2 separate regions of the Homo sapiens genome follow, and region 2 is linked to region 1. The links are contacts of gene promoters, found by promoter capture Hi-C in blood cells and fetal thymus (Javierre and others, 2016). All regions are on one chromosome and are shown on one strand. Each heading gives the region's core, a stretch centred on a gene start or on the middle of the fragment in contact. The rest is flanking DNA. Distances are from core to core; before and after follow the strand shown.

Region 1 (3,521 bases), core at 472-2,971:
TGGGTTCTAGGAGGCAGGGCTATATTGTGGGGGGAAAAAATCAGTTCAAGGGAAGTCGGGAGACCTGATTTCTAATACTATATTTTTCCTTTACAAGCTGAGTAATTCTGAGCAAGTCACAAGGTAGTAACTGAGGCTGTAAGATTACTTAGTTTCTCCTTATTAGGAACTCTTTTTCTCTGTGGAGTTAGCAGCACAAGGGCAATCCCGTTTCTTTTAACAGGAAGAAAACATTCCTAAGAGTAAAGCCAAACAGATTCAAGCCTAGGTCTTGCTGACTATATGATTGGTTTTTTGAAAAATCATTTCAGCGATGTTTACTATCTGATTCAGAAAATGAGACTAGTACCCTTTGGTCAGCTGTAAACAAACACCCATTTGTAAATGTCTCAAGTTCAGGCTTAACTGCAGAACCAATCAAATAAGAATAGAATCTTTAGAGCAAACTGTGTTTCTCCACTCTGGAGGTGAGTCTGCCAGGGCAGTTTGGAAATATTTACTTCACAAGTATTGACACTGTTGTTGGTATTAACAACATAAAGTTGCTCAAAGGCAATCATTATTTCAAGTGGCTTAAAGTTACTTCTGACAGTTTTGGTATATTTATTGGCTATTGCCATTTGCTTTTTGTTTTTTCTCTTTGGGTTTATTAATGTAAAGCAGGGATTATTAACCTACAGTCCAGAAAGCCTGTGAATTTGAATGAGGAAAAAATTACATTTTTGTTTTTACCACCTTCTAACTAAATTTAACATTTTATTCCATTGCGAATAGAGCCATAAACTCAAAGTGGTAATAACAGTACCTGTGATTTTGTCATTACCAATAGAAATCACAGACATTTTATACTATATTACAGTTGTTGCAGATACGTTGTAAGTGAAATATTTATACTCAAAACTACTTTGAAATTAGACCTCCTGCTGGATCTTGTTTTTAACATATTAATAAAACATGTTTAAAATTTTGATATTTTGATAATCATATTTCATTATCATTTGTTTCCTTTGTAATCTATATTTTATATATTTGAAAACATCTTTCTGAGAAGAGTTCCCCAGATTTCACCAATGAGGTTCTTGGCATGCACACACACAGAGTAAGAACTGATTTAGAGGCTAACATTGACATTGGTGCCTGAGATGCAAGACTGAAATTAGAAAGTTCTCCCAAAGATACACAGTTGTTTTAAAGCTAGGGGTGAGGGGGGAAATCTGCCGCTTCTATAGGAATGCTCTCCCTGGAGCCTGGTAGGGTGCTGTCCTTGTGTTCTGGCTGGCTGTTATTTTTCTCTGTCCCTGCTACGTCTTAAAGGACTTGTTTGGATCTCCAGTTCCTAGCATAGTGCCTGGCACAGTGCAGGTTCTCAATGAGTTTGCAGAGTGAATGGAAATATAAACTAGAAATATATCCTTGTTGAAATCAGCACACCAGTAGTCCTGGTGTAAGTGTGTGTACGTGTGTGTGTGTGTGTGTGTGTGTGTAAAACCAGGTGGAGATATAGGAACTATTATTGGGGTATGGGTGCATAAATTGGGATGTTCTTTTTAAAAAGAAACTCCAAACAGACTTCTGGAAGGTTATTTTCTAAGAATCTTGCTGGCAGCGTGAAGGCAACCCCCCTGTGCACAGCCCCACCCAGCCTCACGTGGCCACCTCTGTCTTCCCCCATGAAGGGCTGGCTCCCCAGTATATATAAACCTCTCTGGAGCTCGGGCATGAGCCAGCAAGGCCACCCATCCAGGCACCTCTCAGCACAGCAGAGCTTTCCAGAGGAAGCCTCACCAAGCCTCTGCAATGAGGTTCTTCTGTGCACGTTGCTGCAGCTTTGGGCCTGAGATGCCAGCTGTCCAGCTGCTGCTTCTGGCCTGCCTGGTGTGGGATGTGGGGGCCAGGACAGCTCAGCTCAGGAAGGCCAATGACCAGAGTGGCCGATGCCAGTATACCTTCAGTGTGGCCAGTCCCAATGAATCCAGCTGCCCAGAGCAGAGCCAGGCCATGTCAGTCATCCATAACTTACAGAGAGACAGCAGCACCCAACGCTTAGACCTGGAGGCCACCAAAGCTCGACTCAGCTCCCTGGAGAGCCTCCTCCACCAATTGACCTTGGACCAGGCTGCCAGGCCCCAGGAGACCCAGGAGGGGCTGCAGAGGGAGCTGGGCACCCTGAGGCGGGAGCGGGACCAGCTGGAAACCCAAACCAGAGAGTTGGAGACTGCCTACAGCAACCTCCTCCGAGACAAGTCAGTTCTGGAGGAAGAGAAGAAGCGACTAAGGCAAGAAAATGAGAATCTGGCCAGGAGGTTGGAAAGCAGCAGCCAGGAGGTAGCAAGGCTGAGAAGGGGCCAGTGTCCCCAGACCCGAGACACTGCTCGGGCTGTGCCACCAGGCTCCAGAGAAGGTAAGAATGCAGAGTGGGGGGACTCTGAGTTCAGCAGGTGATATGGCTCGTAGTGACCTGCTACAGGCGCTCCAGGCCTCCCTGCCTGCCCTTTCTCCTAGAGACTGCACAGCTAGCACAAGACAGATGAATTAAGGAAAGCACAGCGATCACCTTCAAGTATTACTAGTAATTTAGCTCCTGAGAGCTTCATTTAGATTAGTGGTTCAGAGTTCTTGTGCCCCTCCATGTCAGTTTTCACAGTCCATAGCAAAAGGAGAAATAAAAGGACCGGGTGAGATGTGTCTGCATATGAGCAGTAGAAAGTTGTCAATTGTCCCTTTTGAAAAACTATCCTTTTTTGAACCTTTGCTCAGATTGTTATTTGTACCTTTTGATGTTAAAATGACCTTTATTTATGAAATTACAATAGATTTGGGAAATGATAATAAGTGGTAAGTTTTTGTTTATTTTTAAATGTTCTTCCCTGGCAAAATAAAGAGATGGCACCTCTCTGTCAGTTTTCTTAATATGTTGTTCTGAAAGTTTTCTTACTCAGTCCAATCTGAGAACCTCTGCTTTTAAGTCATCAGACAAATTCTTGAGATGGCTTTTTCTGAGAGGCTCTTCTGTTCATCCTGGTCCCTTCTTGCCTAAAGGTGAGTCTGTGTGTGTGTGGGGGGGGTGCGGGGGTGAGGTGTTGGGGGAGGTCTTCTTATTAGCTGGGAAGATGGTATTTGTGTCACTTTTTGTGAAAGTGGGCTCCCAAATATTCCCTGTTGAGGAAGTGTTCTAATCATGAGGAAATAAGCAAGCAAATCCAGTTGTTGGACAATTAGTTTGGACTGGTCAAAGATGTCAGTGCCAAGGAAGAAAGAAAAAAGGGGTGGGGAAGGGCTTGTTCTATATTAAAGAGACTAAAGAAATGTGTTAACCAAATGTAGTGCATGAGTCTTGATTGGTGTCTTCATCCAAGGGGGAAAAAGGCTATGAGGAACAGGTTTGGGATAACTGAGGCAATTTGACTGCTCATTATTATGTTACTGTATTAATGTTCAGTTTCTTGGTGAGATAATGATACTGTGGTTGCGAAGGATAAAATCTTTGTTCTATGGAGATACATGCTTAAGTACCCAGGGTG
Region 2 (3,521 bases), core at 701-3,200, 780 kb before region 1:
GCTGTGCTACAGTGAGCAAGGCCCCATGGGCATGGGACCCACCAAGCCAAGCACGAGAGAGAATCTCCTTGTCTGCCGGTTGCTAAGACCTTGGGAAAAGCACAGTGTTTGGGGCAGGAGTGTCCTGTTTTTCCAGGTGCAGTCTGTCACGGCTTCCCTTGGCTAGGAAAGGGAAATCCCCCAACCTCTTGAGCAATCCAGGTGAGGCGATGCCCCGCCCTGCTTTGGCTCACCCTCCATCGACTGTACTCACTGTCCAACCAGGCCCAGTGAGATGAACCAGATACCTCAGTTGGAAATGCAGAAATCACCTGTCTTCTGCATCGATCACGCCGGGAGCTGCAGACTGGAGCTGTTCCTATTTGGCCATCTTGGAATGGAAGCCTGCATCAATGTTCTTAGCTAGATCTTCTGGATAACTTGCAGCTTCCATATGAGCACTTGCTGCTTTAGTGTGCACTTTTATGTTACAGAGATGGCTGTTTTCCTTAAACCTCATGAATCAACCTCTCTTAGTTTCAAACCTTTCTTCTGCAGCTTCCTCTCCTCTCTCAGCCTTTGTTAAATTGAGAAGAGTTAGCGCCTTGTTGTGGTTTATGCTTTGGCCTAAAGGGAATGTTGTGACTGGTTTAGCCTTTTATACAGACCACTATAACTTTATCTGTATTAACAGTAAGGCTCTTTTAGTTTCTTATCATGGGAGTACCACTTTTAATTTCCTTCAATAACTTTTTATTTGCATTCACAACTTGGCTGTTTGTCACAAGAGGCCTGGCTTTCAGCCTGTCTCGGCTTTTGATATGCCTTCTTCACTAAGCTTAATCATTTCTACTTTTGATTTAAAATGAGAGATGTGCAACTCTTCATTTGAACAGTTAAAAGCCATTGCAGGGTTATTAATTGGCTTAATTTTGATACTGTTGTGTCTCAGGAAATAGGGAGGCCCAAGAAGAGGAAGAAAGACAGGGAAGAGCTGGTCAGTGGAGCAGTCAGAACACACACACATATCCACTAAGTTTGCCCTCTTATATGGGTATAGTTTGTGGTACCCCAAAACAATTGCAATGGTAACATCAAAGATCACTGATCACAGATCAGCATAACAGATATGATAATAAAGTTTGAAATATTGTCATAATTACCAAAATGTGACACAGGAACACAAAGTGAGCACATGCAATTGGAACAATGGCACTGACAGACTTGCTTAACACAAGGTTGCCACAAATCTTCAATTTGTAAAAAATGCTGTATCTGGCTGGGCGCAATGGCTCACACCTGCAATCTCAGCACTTTGGGAGGCTGAGGTGGGAAAATTGCTTGAACCCAGGAGTTTGAGACGAGCCTGGGCAACAAAGTGAGACTTCTGTCTCTACAAAAAATTTAAAAAATTAACTGGAGGTGGTGATGCGTGCCTGTGGTCCCAGCTGCACGAGAAGTTAAGGCAGGCAGATCTTGAGCCCAGGAGGTCGAGAATGCAGTGAGTTGTGTTCACATCACTGCACTCCAGCATGGGCAAAAAGCAAGACCCTGTCTCAAAAATAAATAAAAAAAGGTTTAAGAAAAATTGCAAATTAAAAATTCATTAAACGTTCTATTAAGAAAATGTCAAGCAATCCAGAGCCCTTAACTGCTGCCATCAGAAGGATGATGAGGCTCACCTGTGGCATGCCTCTTTGTGGGCTGCTGGCACAAGGATTCAGGCCTAGAAAACAATTGGTATAAAGTAGTATGACAGTTGTGGTGGGAAGTTACTCATCACTTAAATTCAGTGATCTAGTCAGTCTCTTATATTTAAACCACACTGAAAGGGTGCAAGTAGAATATGAATGATTTAGAGTTTTAGAGAATACTGTGGTGTGTGTGGGAAAGGGGGAAAGGTGAGGAGGAAAAGTTTACAGTAGCATTGGAATTAAATCCCAACCTGCCAAATATTTGCCAGCATAAGAAGCTGTCTGCCCTTCTCCCTCTACACCCCTTCCTCCCAGCTCTGCTTCTTATCACTCTAAGTTACAGGTAAGGCTGGAGGGTGGTGTGGCAAGTGAGATCAAGGACAGAGGAATGGGGAGGCAGCTTTGCTCACACTTCCAAAATGGTGCCAAGGATTAAGGATTAAAGTTGGTATGGGAGGGATTAAGAAGAAGTAGAGCAATAGGATGACAGGTGCACTTTATTTTGTGGCGTGATGCAGCTGATTTATGATTGGCATGTAACTAGAAGGCTTGTGCATCTGGCTGTAGCAACATGCCTGGTGTTCTGTGTGGAGATTGTATTGGTGTCAGTAAACTTTTGAGAAATACTTTGGGCAGCTGGGTTACATTGTGGATTTAATAATTCATACCAAGCATATAGAGGATGCATATTGAGCCATCATTTACATCCTCCAAGCCAAAGGCTCAAGGACAAGAAAAAGAAAACAAGTCAGCAGAGGGCATCAGTTACATAGTTATACAAAATTTCAAACCTGTTGTATTTAGGGAAACAGGGCTGGGACACAGTGCCATCTTGTGGAAGTGATTGATTTCCCTTTTTATAAGAGATGCAATTAGAGTCTTGAAATTCTTGCTGAATTGTGGTTTGGGAAATAACTACACCTGAATTAATGAGTCTGAGGTCTCCATAAATTCAGGAGGTAAATAGCATACTGGGGTTTGATAAATAATAGCACCTGTATTTTAGAGCACCCAATGCGTGCTAGGTAACGTGCTATGCACGTTGTGTGTGTATGTGTGTGTGTGTCTGTGTGTGTGTGTGTGTGTGTGTGTGTGTGTGTATATTTGTATTTACTTCTCACAGCAATCCTGTAAGAGGTTTTATTTCCATTTCACAGTTGAGACTGAGACTCAGAGTGGGTTAAGTATTGCCTAAGGCTATGTTACCAACTTGGGCTAATACTTTGCTTTTCTTACACAAAGCCTGTGCTTGTGCCTGAATGGAGCCCAGGACTGAAGGATAATGGTAGGCAGTTGCTTTTAATGCTTTGTCAAATTCCTCATCGTTCCCTTATCCCTTATTCTCTTCCCCCAGTATCCAACAGTATCCCCCAAAATCCAACAAAATATTTAGTATCTACATAAGCTTCCCTCTACTCACCTTCTACCATTCAGATTTTTATAGTGTGTGGCTTCAGGAATTTATTGTCAATAAATATTTTTTGAGTACTTACTGTATGACAAATACTGTTCTGTGTGCTTGGAATATATCTGTAAATAAAAAGGACAAAGGTTCTTGACCTAGTAGAGCTGACATTATAGCAGGAGGAGATAGATAATAAACATAAATGGAAGGTAGTAAGTGCTATGGAAAAAAGAAAAAAGTGGCATAGCATTAAATAAAGAGGTCAGAGTAGGTCTCATGGGAAAGGTAACATTTTACCAAAGACTTGAAGGAAGTGAGGGAGTAATTCAGATTCCCTGGGGAAGAGCATCCCAGTCAGAGGGAAGAGCTGCAGAGGAAAGAGCTGCTACAAAACCTTTGGGCAGAAGAATACCTGGCATGTGTGGGGAATAGCAAGGAGTGGC

The links. The method cuts DNA at HindIII sites, captures the fragments that hold promoters and counts their contacts. A CHiCAGO score of 5 or more calls a contact.
Region 2: a fragment that was not itself captured here is called in contact with the fragment with the promoter of MYOC in region 1 in 1 of 17 cell types (M1 macrophages); the score reaches 5.1 in M1 macrophages.

What each region holds. Positions count from the first base shown.
Region 1 is chr1:171,650,888-171,654,408 of GRCh38, reverse strand. It overlaps MYOC (myocilin), which reads left to right and starts at 1,721. Exons shown (of 3, transcript NM_000261.2): 1 at 1,721-2,401. The coding sequence starts at 1,798. The HindIII fragment of the contact is 6,597 bases long and covers 1-3,521 here.
Region 2 is chr1:172,428,476-172,431,996 of GRCh38, reverse strand. All of the region lies in intron 1 of C1orf105 (chromosome 1 open reading frame 105), which reads right to left. Among named protein-coding and RNA genes, the nearest start is that of C1orf105, 9.6 kb to the right of the region's middle. RefSeq lists an enhancer at 2,647-3,169. The HindIII fragment of the contact is 2,261 bases long and covers 820-3,080 here.